5 separate regions of the Homo sapiens genome follow, and all the other regions are linked to region 2. Evidence: promoter capture Hi-C in 16 types of primary human blood cells and fetal thymus (Javierre and others, 2016). All regions are on one chromosome and are shown on one strand. The core of a region is centred on a gene start or on the middle of the fragment in contact, and the rest is flanking DNA. Distances in the headings are between cores, read along the strand shown.

The links. The method cuts DNA at HindIII sites, captures the fragments that hold promoters and counts their contacts. A CHiCAGO score of 5 or more calls a contact.
Region 1: a fragment that was not itself captured here is called in contact with the fragment with the promoter of PMPCB in region 2 in 1 of 17 cell types (erythroblasts); the score reaches 5.9 in erythroblasts.
Region 3: a contact is called between a fragment that was not itself captured here and the fragment with the promoter of PMPCB in region 2, in 1 of 17 cell types (erythroblasts). The highest score is 7.0, in erythroblasts.
Region 4: a contact is called between a fragment that was not itself captured here and the fragment with the promoter of PMPCB in region 2, in 1 of 17 cell types (erythroblasts). The highest score is 5.1, in erythroblasts.
Region 5: a contact is called between a fragment that was not itself captured here and the fragment with the promoter of PMPCB in region 2, in 1 of 17 cell types (erythroblasts). The highest score is 5.1, in erythroblasts.

The regions. Positions count from the first base shown.
Region 1 is chr7:103,149,978-103,152,677 of GRCh38, forward strand. It overlaps LOC105375434, which reads left to right. Exons shown (of 3, transcript XM_047421168.1): 2 at 1-587. It also overlaps a transcript of NAPEPLD not described here and the pseudogene RPL23AP95. Among named protein-coding and RNA genes, the nearest start is that of NAPEPLD, 2.2 kb to the left of the region's middle. The HindIII fragment of the contact is 2,071 bases long and covers 269-2,339 here.
Region 2 is chr7:103,296,014-103,298,713 of GRCh38, forward strand. PMPCB (peptidase, mitochondrial processing subunit beta) reads left to right here and starts at 1,422. Exons shown (of 13, transcript NM_004279.3): 1 at 1,422-1,545; 2 at 2,555-2,695. The coding sequence starts at 1,447. RefSeq lists enhancers at 1,217-1,276, 1,377-1,676. The HindIII fragment of the contact is 11,349 bases long and covers 1-2,700 here.
Region 3 is chr7:103,093,437-103,096,136 of GRCh38, forward strand. All of the region lies in intron 5 of ARMC10 (armadillo repeat containing 10), which reads left to right. Among named protein-coding and RNA genes, the nearest start is that of ARMC10, 20 kb to the left of the region's middle. The HindIII fragment of the contact is 4,149 bases long and covers 1-2,700 here.
Region 4 is chr7:103,113,281-103,115,980 of GRCh38, forward strand. NAPEPLD (N-acyl phosphatidylethanolamine phospholipase D) reads right to left here. Exons shown (of 5, transcript NM_001122838.3): 4 at 1,780-1,894. Among named protein-coding and RNA genes, the nearest start is that of NAPEPLD, 34 kb to the right of the region's middle. The HindIII fragment of the contact is 557 bases long and covers 975-1,531 here.
Region 5 is chr7:103,132,005-103,134,704 of GRCh38, forward strand. All of the region lies in intron 1 of NAPEPLD (N-acyl phosphatidylethanolamine phospholipase D), which reads right to left. Among named protein-coding and RNA genes, the nearest start is that of NAPEPLD, 16 kb to the right of the region's middle. The HindIII fragment of the contact is 800 bases long and covers 862-1,661 here.

The sequences.
Region 1 (2,700 bases), core at 54-2,553, 150 kb before region 2:
ATCGTTTACTTTTAAAATGATGTCACAGCCCCCTGGTACACACGGTTCTCATCTAAATTTGCATCTTTTTTAACGCTAGGATAACTATGAAAGAGCATACGATTGTGATTCTGAGTTTCTTACTGGATTTGCTTTTTAAACTGCAGAATGAAATTAGTTGTTTCAAGAAGTAAAGTACAGGCATGTCGAAGTAAAATTCAACAATGGGTTGTTGGGCAAAAAGATTATAAAAGTCCTGGGGTGTGCCAGGGTCAAAAAAAAAAAAAAAAGCTTGTCCCTGGGGTTATCTTGGCAAAAAAGAAACCACCACCACAGGTTCTAAATGCAGATAAGACTGGCAGAAAAATGCAGACCAAACTATTCTGCATTTTGAAAGTGAATGTGCCTGTGTGACATTGGAGGAATGTAAAGAACTGTATGTCAAGTGTGGACTTTATCTCCTCAGGCTAGCTTAGAGTGGCTGCTGAACTTAAGGGTGATTAAGAGCTGCTTGCACCTGGGTGGAGCTGAAACTGCATAAGGTGAATAATACCTTTGTGCAACAGAAGAAAAAAAAAAAAGTAACAGCATACATACAAACCCAAAGGGTAAGTTGAAGTTACTACTCAAAAGTTCTTCATAGTGTTCTTGACTAAGCAACGGAGAAGTAATCCCGGCACTTTGGGAGGGCAAGGCAGGAGAATCCTTAGAGCCCAGGAGTTGGAGACCAACTTGGGCAACATAGCGAGACTTCATCTCTACAAATAATAATTAAAAAAAAAAAAAAGTAGCCAGCCTTGATGGCCCGCCCTTGTGGTCCCAGCTACTCCAGAGGCTGAGGTGGGAGGATCGATTGAGCCTGGGAGATCAAGGCCGCAGTGAGCTGTGATCACGCCACTACACTCCAGCCTGGGCAACAGAGAAGACCCCATTTCCCCAAAAAAAAAAAAAAAGCTGGGCGCAGTGGCTCACGCCTGTAATTCCAGCACTTTGGGAGGCCAAGGCAGGAGGATCACCTGAGGTCAGGAGTTCGAGACCAGCCTGGCCAACATGGCGAAACCCTGTCTCAAGTAAAAATACAAAAACTAGCTAGGCATAGTGGAGCTCACCTGTAATCCCAGCTACTAGGGAGGCTGAGGCAGTAGAACTGCTTGAACCCCAGAGATGGAGGTTGCAGTGAGCAAAGATGGCACCACTGCACTCCAGCCTGGTAGACAGAGCAAGACTCTGTCTCAAAAAAAAAAAAAAAAAAAAGATGCCCTTTGTTCCCCTCACTCCCACTCTTTTTTTTTAAGTCCTTGTCCTTTATTGGTTAAGGCTGAGGGAAGCAGACAGACCAGTTGGACATAGTAGATGGGTGTGTGAGGTCAAAGTGCTACCTGAAAGCCAGCCAACCCACACTCCCCTAAGATGAATGCTAATGCCCTTCAAACTGTGGGCATTGGTTTCACACACAGCCTCTTCCAGGGATAAAAGAAGGGGTTCTTGTAAAGCCTCTTCTTTTTTCTTTTTTTTTTGAGACGGAGTCTCGTTCTGTCACCCAGGCTGAAGTGCAGTGGCCAGATCTTGGCTCGCTGCAACCTCTGCCTCCCAGATTCTCCTGCCTCAGCCTCCTGAGTAGCTGGGACTACAGGTGCCCACCACCATGCCCGGCTAATTTTTGTCTTTTTAGTGGACATGGGGTTTCACCATGTTGGCCAGGCTGATCTCGAACTCCTGGCCTCAAGTGATTTGCCCGCCTGGGCCTCCCAAAGTGATAGGCTTGAGCCACCGCCACCCGGCAGCTTCTTGTTTTCTTACCTCTACCATGGAGACAAGTTCTGGTTTTCTTAGGACAACTAGCTCTGGTCATAAAGATCTCTGGAGTGATCAAGTATGGTGGAGTGGCAGAGTGAGTGTTCCAAAAGGATAAGTAGAACAGGAGTCTTGCCCAGGCCCTATTACAACCTCAGTACCTTGAATGGCCTCCCCAGCCCAACCAGAAGTTGACAAAGAGGCATGAACCTGGTGAAAAGATACATGTATTTATAATTAGCCAGCTGGACTCAGTTTAGATGACCCCAATTTTGTTGGCAATATCCCAGTTTTGTTGGGTCAGCAACAAAGTTGATCCCAATTTTGTTGGCAATATCCAAAGCATTGTAATCAGGAGCCAGTGGAGCTTATGCCTTCTTCCTGCATCAGGCCTAATCAGGGCATGGACTTTGGCCACATCAGTGTCATAGAGCTTCTTCACAGCCTGTTTGATCTGGTGCTTGGTGGCTTTAACATCCACAGTGAACACAAGTGTGTTGTTGTCTTCTATCTTCTTCATGGCAGACTCAGTGGTCAGAGGAAACTCTGTGACAGCATAGTGGTCAAGCTTGTTTCTCCTGGGGACGCTCTTCTTAAGGGAGGAGACCACCCCTCATATTGTCTTATGCCCAGTTTCTGCCTCCAAAGAAAGAAAAAGTAAAAACTAAAAGGCAGAAATGAAATCCACAAGCAGACAGCCAGGCACCACACCCTGGGCCTGGTAGTTAAAGATCGACCCCTGACGTAATTGGTTATATTATCTACAGATTGCAGACATTGTATAGAAAAGCACTGTGAAAATCCCTATCCTGTTTTGTTCCGATCTAATTACGGGTGAATGCAGCCCCCCAGTCAAGTACCCCCTGCTTGCTCAATCGATCACGACCCTCTCACACACACTCCGTTAGAGTTGTGAGCCCTTAAAAG
Region 2 (2,700 bases), core at 172-2,671:
CAGGAAAGGGGTGTATCAATTGAATGTGGAAGATGGAAAAAGAGAGGAGCTTCTGGGTGGTTTGGAGTTTTGGGCAAATGTAGGTATGATTGGCTGTTTGGCATTGCAAATATGGGAAGAGATTCAGGGGACACAGTGAATTCCCTTTTGGACAAGTTGATATTGAGTTTCCAATGGGGTATTCAAGTGTAGTTTCCTAGTAGTTGATGGTTAAGTGGGCTGGAGCTCAAGAGAAAGGCCTGGGTTGGGCAGACAGGTCTTGAAGTGGAGGGAAAAACCCAGAGGGAGAATGTTCAGTAGAAGAGGCTTAGAGTCCTGGCAAACACCAACTTTTAGGGCAAAATGTAGTGTTTCACAGCACAGTCTTTGGCGTTAACCTATTACTAGCAGGGTAACCTGGGGCAAGTTATTTGACTTCAGTGTCTTAATTGCAAAATAAGCACTATACCATCTACCTGAGTTAGAAAAGCATTTGCAATTTTTAGTTCCTTGAGAGATCTGTGGGCTGGGCGCAGTGGCTCACGCCTGTAATCCTAGCACTTTGGGAGGTGGAGGTGGGTGGATTACCTGAGGTTAGGAGTTCAAAACCAGCCTGACCAATATGGTGAAACCCCATCTCTACTAAAAATACAAAGTAGCCAGGCGTGGTGGCACATGCCTGTAATCCCAGCTACCTGGGAGGCTGAGGCAGGAGAATTGCTTGAACCCAGGAGGCAGAGGTTGCAGTGAGCTGAGATTGCACCACTGCACTCCAGCCTGGGCAACAAGAGTGAAACTCCATCTCAAAAACAAAAACAAAAACAAAAAACAGATCTGTGAATAAAGAGGAGTCCAAGAAGGTGCAGAGGGAACTATGAGGAGGTGGAGCTCTAGAATATATTGAGAAAAGAGAATTTCAAAGAAGCCAACAATGTCAAATCCTCCAACAGGACTGTAACATAAGTCTGTAAAGTGTCCAACTTTTAGCAATTAGTGACCTTACCAAGGGCAATTTCTATGGAATGAGATGAGCCATATTGTAGAGGTTCGAAGAGTGGATAGTGGTCAACACGGATACATCGTTTCCTCCCCTCACGGCATCTGTCTCTCCCACTAGACTTTTCCTTTAAAGGCAGTGACTTATGAATATTATTCCACTGTTTTCAATCAATTCCATCCACCAGTGAGATATATTGCATCAGGTTACCTTTCATTCCACCGCATTTGTGCCTTGCACTTAGTAGGCGATCGATAAAATAACTGATGATAAAGGGGCTTCTGCAGACTCCCCAATTCATTTGGTAAAGACCGCTCAGCATCATGGTCGGGCCCTGATTGCTTTCACAACCGCTTCGAGGAGTGTCATTCCCATCACGGCCACAAGGTGGAGCCCACCTCCCTGCTCTGGGACCTCAGGTCGCGACCCCGGAAGCACATCCTTCATCCTCTACCTTCCTTCTAGCAGAAATGGCGGCTGCGGCGGCTCGAGTGGTGTTGTCATCCGCGGCGCGGCGGCGGCTCTGGGGTTTCAGCGAGAGTCTTCTAATCCGAGGCGCTGCGGGACGGGTGAGCTTCCCTCCAGGCCGGTCCTGTCCTCGAGATCTCGCCAGACCCGGCGCAGCGCACCTGAGAGTCGGCGCCACAGATCCGAACAGTGGGTCGGGCAGGGCCTCCTCGACCCGGACCCGCCGGGCGCCAGGCGGCCTGGGGCTGCTGAACTGGCCGGGGGTGACTGGCTTGTGGCCACCCGCCAGGAGACCTGCTAGTGACGTGTGGGATGACCCTGGTTTTCGGCTCCTCCCGCCAGCTACTGAGGAGTGCATGTTTGACCACTAAAAACGTAGTGCTTGCAAATTGGGGAAAACTAAAAAGTGAAATGGGTACCGCTCCAGAGTTCTATTTTTGCCTAAGACTGAACTTCGTCCTCAGCTGGGCTTCCCGCGAACCTGGACATCAATGAAGTAAAATTTTTTATGTATTTGCATTTTTCTCATGAGAGAGCCTCTGACTTTAAGCAAAGGGATGTGAGACTTTTGTATAAGGGCAAAGAAAAACTGCTGAAAGGCGAATAGTTTCTGGCCGAAAAGCCAGTCATTTGCATTTTGAACATCGACCCATCTTCCTATCCTCTCTCTCTTTTTTTTTTTAACCATTTCCAAACCCTGTTGCTTTTCTTGAACAATGAAAACCCGAGTGTCAGTTTTGTCTTGTGTGTAGGTAGTTTTACATAGTTTCCCTCTCTTTTTTTTTTTCCTGCTTGTTTTCTCCATAATGAATATAAAACATTTCTAGGAGAGGTAGTGAAATAAAGTCAATTTCTCTCTGGGTAATGATAATAATTGCTCATCTTCCCTGAGGGAAGGGCATGTTTATAAACACGTTGCTGGCTTTAGGACAGTGGCTGGTGACAGATGTTTCTAGGCCAGGCAGAGATCTCAGTGGAACCAAAATTCAAGAAGAAAGATTCTTTTATAGAGACAGCCTATTTAAAATAGATTTGGTTTTAAAAGCAACATTTAATATCAGATTAGTAATGTGTTTTGCTTTGTCTCTTCCACTTCCTACCCCCAACCAGTCATTATATTTTGGAGAGAACAGATTAAGAAGTACACAGGCTGCTACCCAAGTTGTTCTGAATGTTCCTGAAACAAGAGTAACATGTTTAGAAAGTGGACTCAGAGTAGCTTCGGAAGACTCTGGGCTCTCAACATGCACAGTAAG
Region 3 (2,700 bases), core at 63-2,562, 200 kb before region 2:
TCTTACTGTAGTCCTGCTTTTATGTTTCCAAGGTGTTTGTACATGGACTTTCCTCTTTTCCAATAGCCAAACTTGTTTGGATGTGATCCAAGATGTACCAAAAGGTATTGAAAATTAAATGTAAGAGTAGTCTTCTAGCAATATTGCACCATTCCCAGGCAGTTTCCAACGTGCATCAGCATGTCTGTCTCCAGTGGAACAAGATAACTTCCAGCCCCTGAACCCCTGGGGAAACTCCTTCCCTCTTTACTGTATGTTGTTGCCACTGTAGGAGAAATCTCTCCTCTGCCTGACTCTGCAGCTGCTTTACCCAGAACCTCAGGAGGAACTCTGAGTCCAGAGCCAGGCTGAGTTCAGCCAGGCAAGTCTGGCCTTGGGGCTGTATATATCTGTCTCAGACATCGTCTGTGTTTTCATATATTTTTTGACTTTTTAAAAGATGACCCAGACCACAATAGTATGTTCTATTTTTGTTTTGTTGTGTTGTGTTTTTCCATTACATTGCTTAGTACAGTATTTCTAGGATAGAAAATTTGCTTTCTTGGTCTGCCTTGGAACATACCTACCAATTACAACATTGATTTTCCATAAAAATTGAGTTTAAAGTTCCAACTTGCAAATGAACTTTTGGATAGCCATCCATTTGTTAGTGGGAAAGTGTGTCTGATTTAGGTATTTTCTTAGTAAATAACCACTAAAATGAATGTTTAAATATCGTATTTTGCTTAAGTCAGGGATCTCACTGTACTGTAATAACCGTTTGGGTACACCACTGATTGATAACTTAATGCAGATAGTGGAGGATTAACATAAACTGTGTGCTTGTTACATCCTCAATGAAAACAAAACTAATGGTTTAAAATGTCCTAGTGTCACCACAAGATGGTGCATGTGACGAGGAAAAAAAACATGTCTTAATATGGTTTCAAACCAAAATCCATATATTTGTTTAATCTGTAGTTGTACTCTAACTGTATATATATTTTTTTCTCATATTTAACTCCCTTCTACAAAGAATAGCAACATCAGATTTTAATACAGGATACCAAATAGCTATTGCTGTTGCTATTCCCTGGTTGTATACCTGCCCTCATTGACTATTAGTGGGTCTTAGATTTTGACTTCATCCAGGCTTATTTCGTAAGTTCAGGACCATCCTATTTCATACCTCCTGTTCCTATTTTTCTAATTGAAACTTCATTGACATTGGAGCCAGGTGTTTTTTTCCTAACACTTATTCCTAGTGTTGCTGATAGTCAGTCAGGCCAGATGAGATCTGATAGTGACCTCCACGGAGTGCACTAAAGAAGGGTCAGAAGTCTCCTTTACTCTTTCAACCCCAGAGGCCTTAATTTATTAATAGCATCTCTTTGAAAAAGACAATCTCTGCATATTCAAGAAATGTTACCAGTGGACACTGCTGAGGATTGGAAGGGGCCAAAAGCATGGTGGCTTTTGTTTTTACCTTGTTCTCTTTTGCATTACTTAAAATTTTTATCATGACCAAGTAGTAATTTTCTAAAAATAAAGAAATATTTGATAAAAACAGTAAAATTAAGCAAAGTATTATGTCATCCTCAAATAAATTAGTATCTACAACATGATCAAAGAAATTGTGACTATACAGGATATTTGCATAAAAGACCAAAAAGAAAATACTAAAACTTTTCTTTCTCTTTTTTGACACAGAATCTCACTCTGTTGCCCAGGCTAGATTGCAGTGGCATGATCTCTGCTCACTGCAGCCTTGAGCTTCCAGGCTCAAACAATCCTCCTACCTCAGCCTCCCTGGGACTTTGGTCACATGCCACCACGCCTGGCTGATTTTTGTATTTTTGGTAGAGACGGGGTTTTGCCATGTTGCCCATGTTGCTCTTGAACTCCTGAGCTCAAGTGATCTGCCCACCTTGGCCTCCCAAAGTGCTGGGAATGCAGGCATGCGCCACCGCACCTGGCCAAAAATACCAACACTTAATCGTGATCATTTCTGGTTATGTAAATACGGGTAAATTTTCTTTTTCTTTGTGGTTTTCTATTTTTTTGAAAGTGCTATGGTAAACATCTGTTGCCTTTGTAATAAAAAATTTTTCTAAAATAATATCCAGGTTCCTTCCCAGCTCTAGTGAAGAGCACATTTGTCCCATTTCCCTGAGTTAGTACCCCCCTCTATGCTTATTTTAGTTCCAGGTATCTTGTAGAAAGTATGGTTTCACATGGCCTTTGTTTTTAAAAGACTTGGAACCAACCCGAATGTCCAACAATGATAGACTGGATTAAGAAAATGTGGCACATATACACCATGGAATACTATGCAGCCATAAAAAATGATGAGTTCATGTCCTTTGTAGGGACATGGACAAAATTGGAAATCATCATTCTCAGTAAACTATCGCAAGAACAAAAAACCAAACACTGTATATTCTCACTCATAGGTGGGAATTGAACAATGAGAACACATGGACACAGGAAGGGGAACATCACACTCTGGGGACTGTTGTGGGGTGGGGGGAGGGGGGAGGGATAGCATTGGGAGATATACCTAATGCTAGATGACGAGTTAGTGGGTGCAGTGCACCAGCATGGCACAAGTATACATATGTAACTAACCTGCACATTGTGCACATGTACCCTAAAACTTAAGAATAATAATTAATAAATTAAAAAGAGGCATTCTATTTGAGTCTTGTTATTACTGACTTT
Region 4 (2,700 bases), core at 3-2,502, 180 kb before region 2:
CACAACCCTATGGTTAGTCATTATTCTATTCCTTCTCCCAACAGTGGCCAAGAATTGCTGCATTGTGGCTCAGGGTTGCTGCCTCATGGCACAGGAATTTTGATTAGGGAGTGGGGGAATGGGCAGGCAGTGTATTAGGTAATTTTGGAACACACTGCATCTTTGGGAGAGGGCAGGCCATAAGTGAGACAGAGGAGTAACTAAAACTGCAAGAAAACACTGAGTTCCTGCAGAGAGGCTCTGGGATGTGGAAGATGCCACAGAAAGTAAAGAAGCCAAGTCCTAACCACACTTTTTTTTTTTTTAAAGACAGAGTCTCACTTTTTTTTTTAAGACAGAGTCTCACTTTTTTTTTTTTTTTTTTTCTCAAGACAGAGTTTCGCTCTTTCACCCAGGCTGGAAGGAAGTGCCGTAATCTCGGCTCACTGCAACCTCTGTCTCCCAGGTTCAAGTTATTCTCCTGCCTCAGGCTCCCGAGTAGCTGGAATTATAGGCGCCTGCCACCACGCCCAGCTAATTTTATTAGAGATGGGTTTTCATCATGTTGGCCAGGCTGGTCTCGAACTCCTGACCTCAGGTGATCCACCCGCCTCAGACTCCCAAAGTGCTGGGATTACAGGTGTGAGCCACAGGTGCCCAGCCAAATCTCACTCTTTTGCCCAGGCTGGAGTATAGTGGCACAATCTCGACTTACTGCAACCTCTACTTCCTGGGTTCAGGCGATTCTCCTGCCTCAGCCTCCCGAGTAGCTGGGATTACAGGCACGCACCACCACGCCTGGCTATTTTGTATTTTTAGTAGAGACGGGGTTTCGCCATGTTGGCCAGGCTGGTCTCGAACTCCTGACCTCAAGTGATCCACCTGCCTCAGCCTCCCAAAGTGCTGGGATTACAGGTGTGAGCCACTGCACTGGGCCTAACCATACATTTCTAAGTTTTGTTTAGAGAAGACCTTGGATCCAGGAAAGGAGAGAAAGCTTTATACTATCCTCTGCTTGATCCCAGGACCCAGGCTAGTGGCAGAGTTCTAGGGTCCATCTGCCTTAAGGAAAAATTATCTCTTCTGTTTTAATCTAGGAATAAAATCACATTTATCCCTATGCCTGGCACATAGCAGACACCGAGTCAATGTTTACTGAATATATTTCTAGAAAGTTCCACACTAGCCTTACTTCTCCCTATTGCCCTCCACTCTCCTGCTGAACTGATTCAAGTACTCCCCACACTAGCTGCCTCCGAGCCTATGCTCTGCCCTTTCCTCCTCTGAAAATGCCTTCCTCCCTGCCCTCTCAGAGCCAAGTTCAAATGTCACTTATTCCATCACGCCCTCTCTGATCCCTGCCATCAGCAAACATCCTGATTCTGAGACCATCTCATCTGTTCCACATTACAGCACTTTCCCCTTCTAACATCTGTATCACATACATGACTTCTGTCTTCTGCTAGCATGAGAGCCTGCTTGAGGGGTGAGACATGATGGCTTGCTTTTCTAGTCTCCAGACCACATACAGATTTTTGGTTATACAAATACAAGCTTTACTAACTTCAGAAATAAGCCAAAAGAAAACACAATGAGGTTGTGTTGTTTTTTTTTTCTGACTGTATATGTGTGTATTGTTCTACTAATTAGTATGATTTACCACCCTAATTCATGCAGTGACTGTGATGACTGTGCAGTATCTGATTCCAGAGTCTTGGGTCTGAAAACTAAGGAACAGTGATGCCTGAATCCTATCATTGGTCAAACACACAAAGTTATTTTTATCGCAATCAAACTTACCTCATTTGCTAAGGCAAAAGTTCCCCAGTGAATTGCCATAGATTTCTTTGTTTGGACATCAGTGTGAATCCTTACAGCTTCTTCTGGGTCTACATGCTGGTATTTCATAAACCACCTGAAGAAACATGGCAATTTCTTAATTCTGACCTTTGAGATATACACTAAATTCTAAAATCTGTTTCACTTAACCAAACTTTAAGATTCTGCGCAGGACTATGGATGTTGAGAATTAAGAACCACTGGGATAAAACATGCAGTTTTGGGGAGGATGAGCTAGAAACCAAGTCTGAAGGCCAGGTCAAGGCTAGATTGTAAAAACAAAACAAATTCTGCACAGGAATTAAGTCACAGGAGGCAAAACCATCTCCCTTTGGTACACTTTCTGCTGAAAAATAAAACAAGCAAAAGTCTTTCTTGTACAAATTGCTATAAAATAAGTAAGTCTCAAGCAAACTCCCCTCTGAATAGTGAGATTTTTGTTTCACGTATATTTTGATTTTACTGGATCTATCTGAAGATACAACTTACTGATGATGCAGGGGAGGCGAGCCCCAAAATTGAGGCTTAGCCCAGGAGGGTTTTTGGCCTCACAAACGAAATATAATTCAACGGCAAGCCAGTGGTGCTGGCCAGCAATTTTTTTTAAACGATACTGCTCCTTGAGGAGCAGTGCTAAGTTATAGGCAGTAAGTGCACTCAGAGTTGGCAACATATGAGGGGTTGGTAACTGTATTTACACTCACTTATACCCACTTTTAATTATATGTAAATTAGGGAATGGGTTAATGCAAATTAAAGGGCAGATTATTTAGAACTTTCTAGGAATGGGGTGGTAACTTCTTGGTCATTGCCATGGAAAGGGGCAGTAACTTCTAGGTTGTTGCCATGGCCATTTATAAACTGTCATGGTGATGGTGGGAG
Region 5 (2,700 bases), core at 12-2,511, 160 kb before region 2:
TTGGGAGCCTGAGGCAGGAGAATTGCTTGAACCCAGGAGGCGGAGGTTGCGGAGACTCCGTCTAAAAAGAAAATGATGTACTTAGGGAAGACAACTCTGATAGCAGGATTAAAAAGAAAGGAAGTGGCTAAAAACTGGAGCTTGGGAGATGGATTGAATGAAAACAGAAGAAGCCTAGAACACCCAATAACACTGAACCACCATGCCACATATTTCACCTATTTCATTTAAACTCATGCTCCTAGCAAACCCTCAAGGTAGGTATTATAATCCCCACTTTTTAATAGTGAATAGCAACCCAGTCAAAAGATGAGGAGGCAGTGCAATGAGAAGAGAAAAAGCAGAATAAATCCAAGAGACAACAAAGAAGATGAATCAGTAAGACTTGAGAGTATTTGGATAGTCACAAATTTTGGACTTTGTAGGGCTGGTTGGTCAGGAGGAGAGTGGGAAGAGTCAGAAATGGCAGCACCACTAATCAAGGTGGATTGTGACCCAGTGAGTTTGAGAAGGGTTTGAGGTCATGGGAAAGCAAGAACCCAAGAGAAAGTCCTCATTGACACCCAAAGGAAATGGATTCAGGCTGCTTTAGGGGTAAAAATAAATAAATAAATAAAATAAAAAATAAAAATAAAAATAAATAAATTAGCCCACTGTGGTGTTGCAGGCCTGTAGTCCCAGCTACTGGGAGGATCCCTTGAGCCCAGGAAGTTGAGGCTGCAGTGAGCTGTTATCATGCCACTGCACTCCAGCCTGGGCGACAGAGCGAGACTCCGTCTCAAAGAAAGAAAGAAAGAAAAGAAACAAAAAGAAGAGAAAAGAAAAAATTGGTGCAGTGATCTTTCTTCTCTCTAAATAATAAGCTTTTTCAAAGTTGTCTATTCACACAATCTCCATTTCCTCACCTCCCATCCACTCAGTCTTTCACCCCAATCAATCTGTGGAAACAGGTCTCATTACCAAATAGCCATCCTCTCCTAACAAACCCCCTCCCCTAACACACACAAAGTCCAGTTTTCAGAAATGCTCTTTAAAAAACAAAAAACAAAAAAATCTGATACAAACAAAACGAAAAAACCTCCAAAGGGTTTTTTGAGGGCAAAGGTCAGCATGATGGTTCACAGGGTCTGTGTTTCTAACCTTACCCACACTCTCCACACTCTCCTCTGCTCCATAAACACGGCCTGAAACTATTTCCTCAGATGTATCATGTACCCACTTCAGGGCGACCAACTGCCACGTTGTCATATCCTTGGGGTATGGGGAAATGTATAGTCACAGGATTATGGACTGCCATCCATGACAGATGTTAAAGCAACACAAAATGATCAAACTATGAAACACCATTTCACACGATGCACTGTTGAAAGGGCAAGAAGGAGCAGAAGCACGTAAAACCTGAGCCTTGAAACTCTGGACTGGTTTTTCTGGAGGAAAAATACTGGGAGCCCATTTGCTGAATGTGCAAAATGACACGCTCTGCCAACAGGTGCTCCAGTGACAAAGGAGCCTCAGCCCGAGAGTGGGTCACACAAGAACGCTCCTCATGCCCAGTGTCTTCTGGGCACTCAGAAGACCACAGATAAAATGACAGAAAAAGTAGGAATGAGGAAGAGTGGGTTGTCTGTATGGTCCTGTGTTAACTAGCTTTGAGCTCTTCAAGCTTGACAAACCCCTTAACATATCTAGCTAGAGTTTCTGTAATTAAATGTGGCAAATTTCAAACTATTTCTTGTTATGTAACTGTTTCCAAAATTAACAATGTAAATGAAAATAATCCACCCTTGATTTCAGGCCAACACCAACTGAAAGTAGATGTGTACATGAATACACAAAAACTGTAAACAACCTGTGTTTCAAAAAGTGCTTTAAAACTTGATAAAGATCTTTCCATTGTACTGATTTTGATTCAATTTAAGATCCATGAATTCTGAAAGAGCAATCTAAACAAATAAGTAATAAATAAATAAAAATACCATGAATTGTAAGGCACCCTGATGTGTCATGTGCCACTAAGGAAGTAAAAATGTTATCAATTATAGTTAGGTCACACGTTATACATGACATATAGTGATATCAGTGGTGTTAAAATGTGAATAAAATGTCTATCTCAAAATGGATGAAATATAGCATTTTGTGTTGGAAAATAAATACGTTGGGACAGGAGTGAAAACATTGCTCTTGATAATTAAATATAATCAGAAGCATAATTAATTGCTCATCCTCTTTCCCTCTGTGAACAACAGTTAGTTATAAACATACCAAATGCTAAATTTGTTCTAGAAAACTAGAATCCAGAAGAAAATTTAAAGGTAACAAACCCCTGTGACAATTGTATTTTAAATATAAAATACAAATGTTCTAGCCAGGCACAGTGGCTCATGCCTGTAATCCCAGCACTTTGGCAGGCCGAGGCAGGTGGATCACCTCAGGTCGGGAGTTCGAGACCAGCCTGGCCAACATGGTGAAACCCCATCTCTACTAAAAATACAAAAATTAGCTAGGCATGGTGGTGTATGCCTGTAGTCCCAGCTACTCAGGAGGCTAAGGCAGGAAAATCACTTGAACCCTGGAGGCAGAGGTTGCAGTGAGCCGAGATTCCAGCCTGAGCGACAGAGTGAGACTCCATCTCAAAATAAATAAATAAATAAAAATAAAAAATAAAACAAATGTTCTTTTTTAAAGAACAATGTATTACAA